2 separate regions of the Homo sapiens genome follow, and region 2 is linked to region 1. Evidence: promoter capture Hi-C in 16 types of primary human blood cells and fetal thymus (Javierre and others, 2016). All regions are on one chromosome and are shown on one strand. The core of a region is centred on a gene start or on the middle of the fragment in contact, and the rest is flanking DNA. Distances in the headings are between cores, read along the strand shown.

What was found. The method cuts DNA at HindIII sites, captures the fragments that hold promoters and counts their contacts. A CHiCAGO score of 5 or more calls a contact.
Region 2: a contact is called between a fragment that was not itself captured here and the fragment with the promoter of STX19 in region 1, in 2 of 17 cell types (total CD8 T cells and activated CD4 T cells). The highest score is 5.5, in total CD8 T cells.

The regions. Positions count from the first base shown.
Region 1 is chr3:94,025,922-94,031,128 of GRCh38, forward strand. STX19 (syntaxin 19) reads right to left here and starts at 2,676. Exons shown (of 2, transcript NM_001001850.3): 1 at 2,446-2,676. All of the region lies in intron 3 of ARL13B (ARF like GTPase 13B), which reads left to right. The HindIII fragment of the contact is 4,986 bases long and covers 1-2,950 here.
Region 2 is chr3:94,083,721-94,088,927 of GRCh38, forward strand. It overlaps NSUN3 (NOP2/Sun RNA methyltransferase 3), which reads left to right. Exons shown (of 6, transcript NM_022072.5): 3 at 387-730. Among named protein-coding and RNA genes, the nearest start is that of NSUN3, 23 kb to the left of the region's middle. The HindIII fragment of the contact is 570 bases long and covers 2,982-3,551 here.

The DNA.
Region 1 (5,207 bases), core at 1,426-3,925:
TAAGGTAAAGTATTTGCCCAGTGTAATTAGCTTTAATTACTACTCTTCACTTTGGCTTTAAGTATGTTTCCTCATCATTTCTGGCACCTGAAAACTTCTCTTTTTTTTTTTTTTTTGAGACGGAGTCTCTCTCTGTCGCCCAGGCTGGAGTGCAGTGGCACCATCTCGGCTCACTGCAAGCTCCGCCTTCCGGGTTCACGCCATTCTCCTGCCTCAGCCTCCAGAGTAGCTGGGACTACAGGCGCCCGCCACCACACCCGACTAACTTTTTATATTTTTAGTAGAGATGGGGTTTCACCGTGTGAGCCAGGAGAAAACTTCGCTTTTTTACTCTAAAATTTAGTGATGTTGTTTTAAAATTTGTCTTTTTTAAACTTACGATTACATCAAATTCTGTATGTTTAGAGAAAGAGGGAGTAACTTCTGTATCTGTGCATTTTGACTGAAAGTCACAGTTGCTTATCTTTATAGAATTAACATAATTGAGAATGTTTCCCTAAATCCTTGTTCATCTGTGTAGAAATTGACTTGATAGGTACTCAAATATGTTTATATGCTGTATATAAATTACATTTTCTAGTAGTTGCATACTCATAACTATATGTATAACTATCCAATTTATTGATCTTATATCTTCATGAATTAGAATGTTAGGCAAAATGAGACAAATAAGCATGTTAGAATTTAAAACATGCAAGGACAGGATTCATATAAGCATAAAATATGAAGCTCATAGTTGTGAAATCATTTAATTGCTTAGACTAGGTGAAATTGATGAAATTACTATTTTATGCAGTCTGTTATGTACCTTAAATTTATTATGTTGGAAGAGTTATATACAAATATGAATCATCTTTTATTATGTTTAACTTGCAGCATTGCTATACAGTTTTGAATTTTACTAGCAAGAACTGTATCTGTGAGCTTAAACATGATATTTAAAAAAGAAAGAACACTAACTCGTATGTATGATAATCAACTTGGACAACTTGTTCTGGGAAATAGAAAAGTAAACTGGTGCGACTCAAATAAAAGGTTCTCTGCCCTATTACAGACACTGAAAATCCCTAGAAACAGAAACATGAGTAAAAATTACCTTGTACTTTTAGAAATATGCCCTGGGATAGATACTTAGTGTATTTATAGATTTTTTTAAAGTAGGCCATTTCTTTTCATAGTTACTGTAATGATTAAATAAAACATTTCAAGAAATATGACCAGTTTTTACCCAAGAGAAAACAGAATATTCTGTTGCTTTTGTATATGAAGTCAACTTGCCACATTTTTCTAGTGCAAGTGAAAGCAGAGGATCTTATTGTAATATATTAACCTCTTTGGCTACTAAAGTGAGGGCCAAATAGTAGTTTCTAAAAACTAAAAAAAAATTGCAAATTGCATATATTGTCTAATTTTGAAGTATCTGACTTTTTTTGCAATGTAAACTTTCAATGCTTTTTTCTACATTTTATTTAGTCTAAATAACTTATTGAATTAACTTGTATAACAACATTAAGATCATTTTTGTTTAAATATGATGTATAATTTTTGAACTTTTATCTGATTCAAGTAAGCTGTACATACATAAAATGATTTTTATATTACATTTAAAACTGCATAGCTGTGAAGATAATGTGTTCGAGGTATTACGTGGCCAATTCTCAAGTCCACCTTTAAAATACATATAAAAGTCATTATTATTTTGATTTGAAATGGAATATTTATTAAATTCTAACATAGTAACAATTATAACTTTGAAAGTATCTAACCTATCTACATATGTTGTATTTAAATGATGCTGATTTAAATTTTTCAAACTATCAATTAAATGCTAACACTTACGTTAAATGGTATAACAAGTATTTTTAATGTACTAGTTGAAATATTATAAAGGTTAGTGAGTACTTCGATATTTTCTGGTAGCCCTTTCACAAGATTATTTTCTCATTTTTTCAATTTTAGAAGATTCTAGTAAACAACAATGAAGCAATTAAGACCATTATAGCAAATTATTTCAGATTTTTAAGGTTATACGTATGTGTCAAATTTGGGTATAAGCTGCTTTTCAGAGTGAAATATAAAAATGTTCTCTAAAGTAAGCACATTCATAGTCTGTCTATAAAAGAAATAATTTTAGATCTGTTTTTACATCTGACTTTCTAGTATTTTTTAAATGAGAGCTTACTTTTTAAAAGACTTAAAAATTTTTTCTTTCCTCTAAAGTTGATTTTTATTATCGTAGTCTATTTTCAAGAGCTTTATACCCAGATCCCAGTCAGCATGTCAGTAATATATGTGAACAAATCAGCTACTGGTACCCCGGTCCAAATCTGAGCAAAACAAGTAACCCTCATTATTTGTTGAGTGATTTTTAAATGTAACAGTGTAACCAGATGTCAGTCTATGGATACCTCATATTAAAAAGTACAGAAAAGAGTCATTATTTACCTTTCTGTTTTCTTCCTTTTGTTGGTTTTCCACCTGCGGTGTTGGAGTCCTGCCTTTGAGAGAATATCTGAATATCATCTCATGTTTTGAACAAATTATCTAAATCTCTGTCTTATAGGGCACAGACTAATTTCTGTATAGTTTTCATGTTGTTAATTTGAAAGCCAAATAATGAAGTCAAATAAGAGATAAAGTTGTACGTTTGCTGTTAATAGCAAGTGAAAATAGATTGCTTACTTCACACCTGGAGAATCTGGTTCTGCCTGTTAGACGCCTATTCTTTAGATTAAAGGAAGATCATTTTCATTGGAGCTAGTCGGTAACAGGAAGTCCTCGTTAAACTGCCTACGTAGAGTATTTGGCACTGGATCTGCAAATTTAGTCCTACATTGTATATGTAATATATTATTCCAAGAAAATGGGTTTGTATTTAAACAAAGGTTACTTTCTTTTCTATAGATATCAAAACTTACTAAAAATATGGAATTAAATAGGAATGAAAAGAAGCTTGGTGTAAAAGCTTTTTTTGTTCCATTTACTTTAAAATGGTTGAAATCTGTCCTATTTTAGGAAATCCCAAAAGAGCTTAGCTCACAAAATCATAGAATTTCAGAAGGAGAACATCCAGGAAAGAGCTCATGTCTGTAAACCATTCATCCCACGTTACTTTTAATTTTTTTTACTTTTTATTATGCCTGCTGTTTTTATTTTAAAATAAATTTTATATAGAACTAAAGTTATCCAGCAATATATGTTAAATCATTTATTTTGTCAATATAACAACTCAAAATTAATTTATACCAGAGGGAAATGTTTATAGGAAGAATTAAAAATGAAAATTTCTCTTGTACTACCAAATTTCAGACCCATTTTTTCTACCTGACTTGTTACTATTTGAGGGCAAGAAGAAGGAAATTGCTGTATCTATCAAAATCATATATATATATATATATATATATATATATATATTTATTTTTTTTTTATTTTTTTTTTTTTTTGAGAAGGAGTCTTGCTCTTGTAGCCCAGGCTGGAGTGCAGTGGCACGATCTTGGCTCACTGCAACCTCCGTCTCCCGGGTTCAAGCAATTCTGCTGCCTGAGCCCCATAAGTAGCTGGGATTACAGTTGCCTGCCACCACGCCCAGCTAATTTTTTTGTAGAAATGGGGTTTCACCATGTTTGCCAGGCTGGTCTCGAACTCCTGACCTCAGGTGATCCACCTGCCTCAGCCTCCCAAAGTTCTGGGATTACAGATGTGAACCACCATGCCCGGCCAATCACATTTATATTTATTCTTTGTTTTAACAGTTCTACTTCCTGGAATCTGTACTCAAAATAAGAAATGACTCCTTTACACACCTACTTTTTATAGCACTCTTTGTAAAAACAAAACACTGGAAACACAAAAGTCCTTCAGCGTAGAACTGGCTGAATAAATGATGGAACATTCAAAGGGGAGCATTTTGCAATTATAGAAAATAGTGAAGATTTTATTATACTGCTTCAGGGTACTTCAAAATTTACTGTTCAGTTAAAACAAGCATGCTGCAGAAGAATATATATAATATGCTAAGTTTTAGGAAGAAAGGAAGGGTAGATATAAATATTGTATATATACACAAATACATAAACCAGTCAATAGCATTGAATATTCACAGTGCCCAAATTATGGTCCTTGAAATACCATTTTCTCCATACGCTTGTTTATATTTTCAAAAAGAAATAATGGGAGGATGAACTAAACACGAATGAAAATGGTTACCTATAAGGGAAGGGAAGGAAAAGGCAGAGAGATAGCAAATAGTTCCTTTCTGATTGTACCTTGTTTTTATAGTTCTGAATTTAGAACCATATAAATATTTTTTTATTTTTATTTTTTGAGACAGGGTCTCACTCTGTCACCCAGCCTGGAGTGCAGTGGCGCGATCTCGGCTCACTGCAACCTCTGCCTCCTGGGTTCAAGCGATTCTCATGCCTCAGCCTCCCGAGTAGCTGGTATTACAGGTGCACGCCACCACGCCTGGCTCATTTTTTTTTTTTTTTTTTTTTAGTAAAGACAGGGTTTCACCATGTTGGCAAAGCTGGTCTTGAACCCCTGACAAATGATCCACCCACATTGGCCTCCCAGAGTGCTGAGATTACAGGTGTGAGCCACCACGTCCAGCCGATATAAATATTTTAGAAATTAAATCTTAAAACAAATACACAAACGATCTCTAAAATGCAAAAGCACCTAGAAAGAAATGAACCTAGGTATATATCTAGGTGATGGCAAAACCACACAGAGAAGTACTATTTTAAGTAATTTTAAAACAGTATTATTGACTCTGCATCTCTAGTGGGATATAGCGTAGAGACAAAGATACGTAACCACAAAGATATGTTAACCTGCACTTAGTAGTCTTAATATTTAGTAATCATATTGATATTATTATGTTAAAATTCCTATATATAGTTGGATAAAACAAATAATGTCATTAGAAACTGTAGTTTTCAGCATAAGTAAAAAGAGATACAAATAAGATCTAAGGCTGGGCACAGTGGCTCATGCCTGTAATCCAGTACTTTAGGAGGCTGAGGCAGGAGGATTGAGCCTAGGAGTTTGAGACCAGCCTGGGGAACATAGTGAAACCCCATCTCTGCTAAAATAATTTTTTAAAAAAAGAACGTTCGAACACTAGCTGGGCATAGTGGTATGCGCCTGTAGTCCCAGCTACTTGAGAGGCTGAGGTGGGAGGATGGCTCAAGCCTGGGAGGTAGAGG
Region 2 (5,207 bases), core at 2,017-4,516, 58 kb after region 1:
GTTACTTAGGCATGATGGAAAGTTAGGGTTTTCCTTTCAATTTAGTTCTCGGAAGTCAGTATGAAATGGCCTTAGGTTCCTTGTCTTCAGACTCTATTCTCTTGCCTCAATAATGTAATATTTCAGTGATCACAATTAGTTTTTGAAAAGCCACAGTGAACGAAATACCAGTTTTTAAAATAAAGACAGGATCATAACAATGCTGGATTCAGTCCTGTCAGAGGCTCATGAGGCAAAAGGAAGAGTCAGGAATACTGATCCTGTCTCTTAAAATCACAGGTAAGTGAAGTGTAAAACTAGGACCACATTCACCTGATTCGTAATATAAAATTGTATTGGTATGTATCATATTAATATTCTCTTATTTTCTCTTTTTCTATTTCTAGGGAGATACTAACATCTCCATCATGCTGGCAATATGCTGTCCTGCTTAACCGATTCAATTATCCTTTTGAACTGGAAAAGGATTTACATTTGAAGGGCTATCACACACTCTCTCAGGGATCTTTACCCAACTATCCTAAATCAGTGAAGTGTTACCTTAGCAGAACTCCGGGCCGAATCCCTTCAGAAAGACACCAAATTGGAAACCTGAAAAAATATTATCTCCTAAATGCTGCTTCTCTTCTCCCAGTGTTGGCTCTGGAATTAAGGGATGGGGAGAAGGTTCTGGATCTCTGTGCTGCTCCTGGAGGGAAATCAATAGCTCTGCTGCAGTGTGCTTGTCCAGGTAGTGTGCTTTCCTTTCAGTATTTGACAACTTTTTAATATCTGTATGTTATAGAGAATTCTGAAAGTATATATGGGGAGAAACGTAAGACTGAGTTTGCAAACTCAGGAAGCCTGAAAACTGAGATGCTATGGAGAAGAATGGAAATTTTTGCTGAGGAAGTCAGTATAAATAACATTTTTTTCAGCAATTTAATTCTAGCAGGTGATTGGGAACAAAACTTCAACATTTCGCAAATACAAATCTGTCAGATAATATGAATGCTGATAAGCCTGATAGGTATTTTTTATTGTTTACCTTTATACTTGAGAGTCTTATGTAGATATCCCTGTCATACTTTTCTGCAACAAAAACATATACATTTAAAATAATTTTTGATGTCAATAGACTATAAGGTTCCAAGGCAATTCTTTCCAGTAGAAATATAATGTGAAGTATATATATACCCTTAAATATTTAAGTAGTTCCATTTTAAAAAGTAGAAGCAGGTGAAATTAATTTGAATAATACATTGAACCAATACATTCAAAATATTGTTTCAATATGTAATCAAAATAGAAATAATGAGATATTTTACATTCTCTCTTTTTTTTACAGGTCTTTAAAATTGGTTACGTTACAGTTACATCACATTTCAGTTGAGACTAGCCACATTTCAGGTGTTCATAGCCACATGTGAGAAGAGGGTATAGTATTGGACAATCCAAAAAGTCTTTTCAAGTGACTTTTTCATTAATATTATTATTAGAACCAAAGTGATACACAGGTTTACAAATATTTGTTAAAAGTAACAAGTCAACATTTACAATTTTTACAATATTTACAAAATTTACAATTTTTTTCTTAATAATTTTTCTTTTAAAGCTAATTCTTTTTTTAAAAAACTGATACAGGCTTCCCCGAATAAATATTACCTACTACTAGAAGAGGCAGAGTTCAGCATCAATTCTGTCTGTTTTTTGTGTGATGGTTCTGTTTTTATAGATGCCAGTGCTGTTCACACAGATAAGAAGATGGAAATGTTGGCTGGGCGCGGTGGCTCGTGCCTGTAATCCCAGCACTTTGGGAAGCCAAGGCAGGCGGATCGCTTGAGCTCAGGAGTTCTAGACCAGTCTGGGCAACATGGGAAAACCCTGTCTGTACAAAAAGATTCAAAAAATTACCTGGGTATGGTGGTGCATGTCTGTAGTCCCAGCTACTCGGGAGGCTAAGGTAGGAGGATTGCTTGAGCCTGGGAGGCAGAGATTACAGTGAGCTGAGATTGCACCACTCCACTTCAGCCTGGGAAACAGAGTGAGATCCTGTCCCAGAGAAAATTGTGTTACAGTTGTTTTACTGTTTCTTCACACTCCTGATTTGTAGCCTCAGATCACATACAGATCTTTCATCAAGCATTATTTTAAAGATCTATTAGGTAAGCACTCTTTAAGTCCATTTTTAATTTTGTTGAAAGCAAATGACGTGACACCATCTCAATTACAAAAGGCAGTGTTGCCTTTTTTTTTTTTTTTGAGATGGAGTCTCGCTGTGTCTCCCAGGCTGCAGTGCAGTGGCGTGATATCAGCTCACTCCAACCTCTGCCTCCCAGGTTCGAGTGATTCTCCCGCCTCAGCCTCCCGAGTAGCTGGGATTACAGGTGCCCACCACCATACCTGGCTAATTTTTATATTTTTAATAGAGATGGGGTTTCACCATGTTGGCCAGGCTGGTCTCAAACTCTTGACCTCAAGTGATCTGCCCACCTGGGCCTCCCTAAGTGCTGTGAGCCACTGTGCCTGGCTGACTTATTCACTTCCTCAGCCAAAACACTGATGTGTTGAACTGCCCTTGTTTGATGTTCTGGAGGTTTCGATACCCTGGCACATTCTACCATAATAAGATTCTAGATGTGTGGGAAGCTTGCTTGTCATTTGTAAAGTTGGTGAAGGACCTTGTGAAAGGAGATGCCCCACTGGAAGTGTTCTCCTCCTTTAGGAAGTTGATGATCTGAAAATGGATTCTTTTGAAACTGTCCAAGCCTTCCTGTCCCTTAGAACATTGGTGTGTATCCCCAAGGCATGTATGTTCCAGTTTGAAGACTGCTTTTATACTTTTATATGAGAGCATTCCCTGTTGAAATAGATTTAAAATTCTTTTATGAGAAACGTGAATCCAGTTGTACTAGGCATTGGTACAAATATATCAGTTAACTGTATATTTAGGAGGAAATATGCCCAATGTTTTAGAGTTCTGGTTAAAACTCAGCTATTGAAGCTTGCTGTATTTTAAAATAAGAAATCACAGCAAAAATGTTATTTTACAAGTTTACCTCGTTATTTTTATAATTTGAGCTGAAGTTTTGTGGAATTGTATGTTATAAGGAGCACTTATTTTTACTTCTACTCTATGTCCTTTGACATTGTTTTTATAAGTTAAAAGGCTTATACTAATTAATTCAGGATATGGAATTTTAGTATTATAAAGGATGAAAGGGAAATGTCAAATTTGGTTACCATTTTGAAGAGAGGGCATTTTAATTCTAAATTATCCTCATTAGTAGGCTATAAATATTTTACACATTTATAGTAGCAAAGTTGATTTGATTAGGAACCCAAAGGCAAACTGATATATTCTAGCAGTTTGAAGTTGAGAAGAATCTTCCTGTTCTTATATCAAGGGCAATGAACTACAGGCAGTGTTCCAAGTAAAGTAGCTTTTCATCTAAGTAGGACTAATGATAATGATTTACTAAGAAGTACAGATGTCTTCATGCTGATGCTTAAAGCCCAAGTTAGGTTAGCTACAGTGCTTGAATTTGGAATGTAGAAGCAATACTAATCAAAGCTTTTATAAGCAAAATGTAAAATGATGGCTGCACTAAATGTGCATTTGTACACCAAATTTCTTTAGATCAGTACTGACCTTTATTCTGGGCCAAGAGGCTCATGGCTTTGAATGATTACAAAGCTTATGTTTTAGGATGATTTAAAAAAAAGAGTCTACTTTCTGTTGGTTCAGCTGCTCTCACCTGTTACCACATTGATGGACTCACCATGGTTGTTGTCAACATAGCCTTTTTAATGTCCTGGTCTTGGCAGAAAAAGAGCAAACAATATGGATTCTAAATGGGAAAACATTAGCATATTAACTAAGGATGACCCAGCTTGGTAGATTGTCTTAGTCAACTTTCTGGCTGAAGGCTATGTCCCTCTAGGCATGAAAATCTCTTTGATGTCAGTGATAACTTTTTTGGTTTTTTGAGACAAGGTCTTGCTCTGTTGCTCAGGCTGGAGTGCAGTGGTGCGATCTTGGCTCACTGCAGCCTTGACTTCCTGGGTTCAAGTCATCCTCCCTCCTCGGTCTCCCAGGTAGCTGGGACTGGGCACATGCCACCAAACCTGGCTAATTTTTGTATTTTTTGTAGAGATGGGGTTTCACTATGTTGCCCAGGCTGGCCTCGAACTCCTGGGCTCAAGCAGTCTGCCTGCCTTGACCTCCCAAAATGCTGGGATTACAGATGTGAGCCACTGAGCCCAATAGTGATAACTTTTTGATATCTGGTTAGTAGAGAAGACTGAAAAGACTCCTTTCTTGGTTTAATTGCTTTTGCTCTCCTTCCTGCTTCTTCATCTCTAGTCCTTTTTGCACATTCTACAGGTGTCTCTTTTTCCTTTCTCTTCCCCTGCTCCTTTTCATCCTTCAGATTATACTTCAGGATTTAATTTTCCTGGAATGCCTTCTCTGAACTCCCTGCATTAGGTTCATCTTCTTTGTGGGAATGAAAATAATAACCATTTTGTAACACTTTGTATGTGCTAAGGATTGTGTTAATCACATTGCTTAAACCTCTGCTTTTCAAACTTTTTTTAGTAGTCTCTGCTTCCAACATCTTGTTTTTTATTTATTTTTTCTTTCTCTCACTTTCTCCCAACAACTTTTGTTATATCCTCATATATAAATCTTTCTAAAATCCTAGGGCTCTGAGGAACTGTGACTATCACTGATGACCATTATTTAACTCTCCAGCTCTGTGAGTTGGGTATTATTATTCCCATTTTAAAGAGTTATCTGAGACAAGGAGAAGTACCAAATTGCCTAAGGTAACTGGCAGAGCTGGGATCTGAACTCAAGTTTTCATTGTTGTAGTTGTGCTATTGACTATTCTAGGGTCTCTCAGTAATACACAAATGCTGACTTCTGTAGCATCCTCCGTTAGTGTCCTGGAGCATAGGGACAGATCCTTTTTTTTTTTTTTTTTTTAGACATAGAGTCTCTCTCTGTCGCCTAGGCTGGGGTGCAGTGGTGTGATCTTGGGTCACTGCAGTCTCTGCCTCCTTGGTTCAAGCAATTCTCATGCCTCAACCTCCCGAGTAGCTGGGATTATAGGCACATGCCACCATACCTAATTTTTGTATCTTTAGTAGAAATGGGGTTTCACCACGTTGGCCAGGCTGGTCTCGAGCTCCTGACCTCAGGCGATCCACCGGCCTCGGCCTCC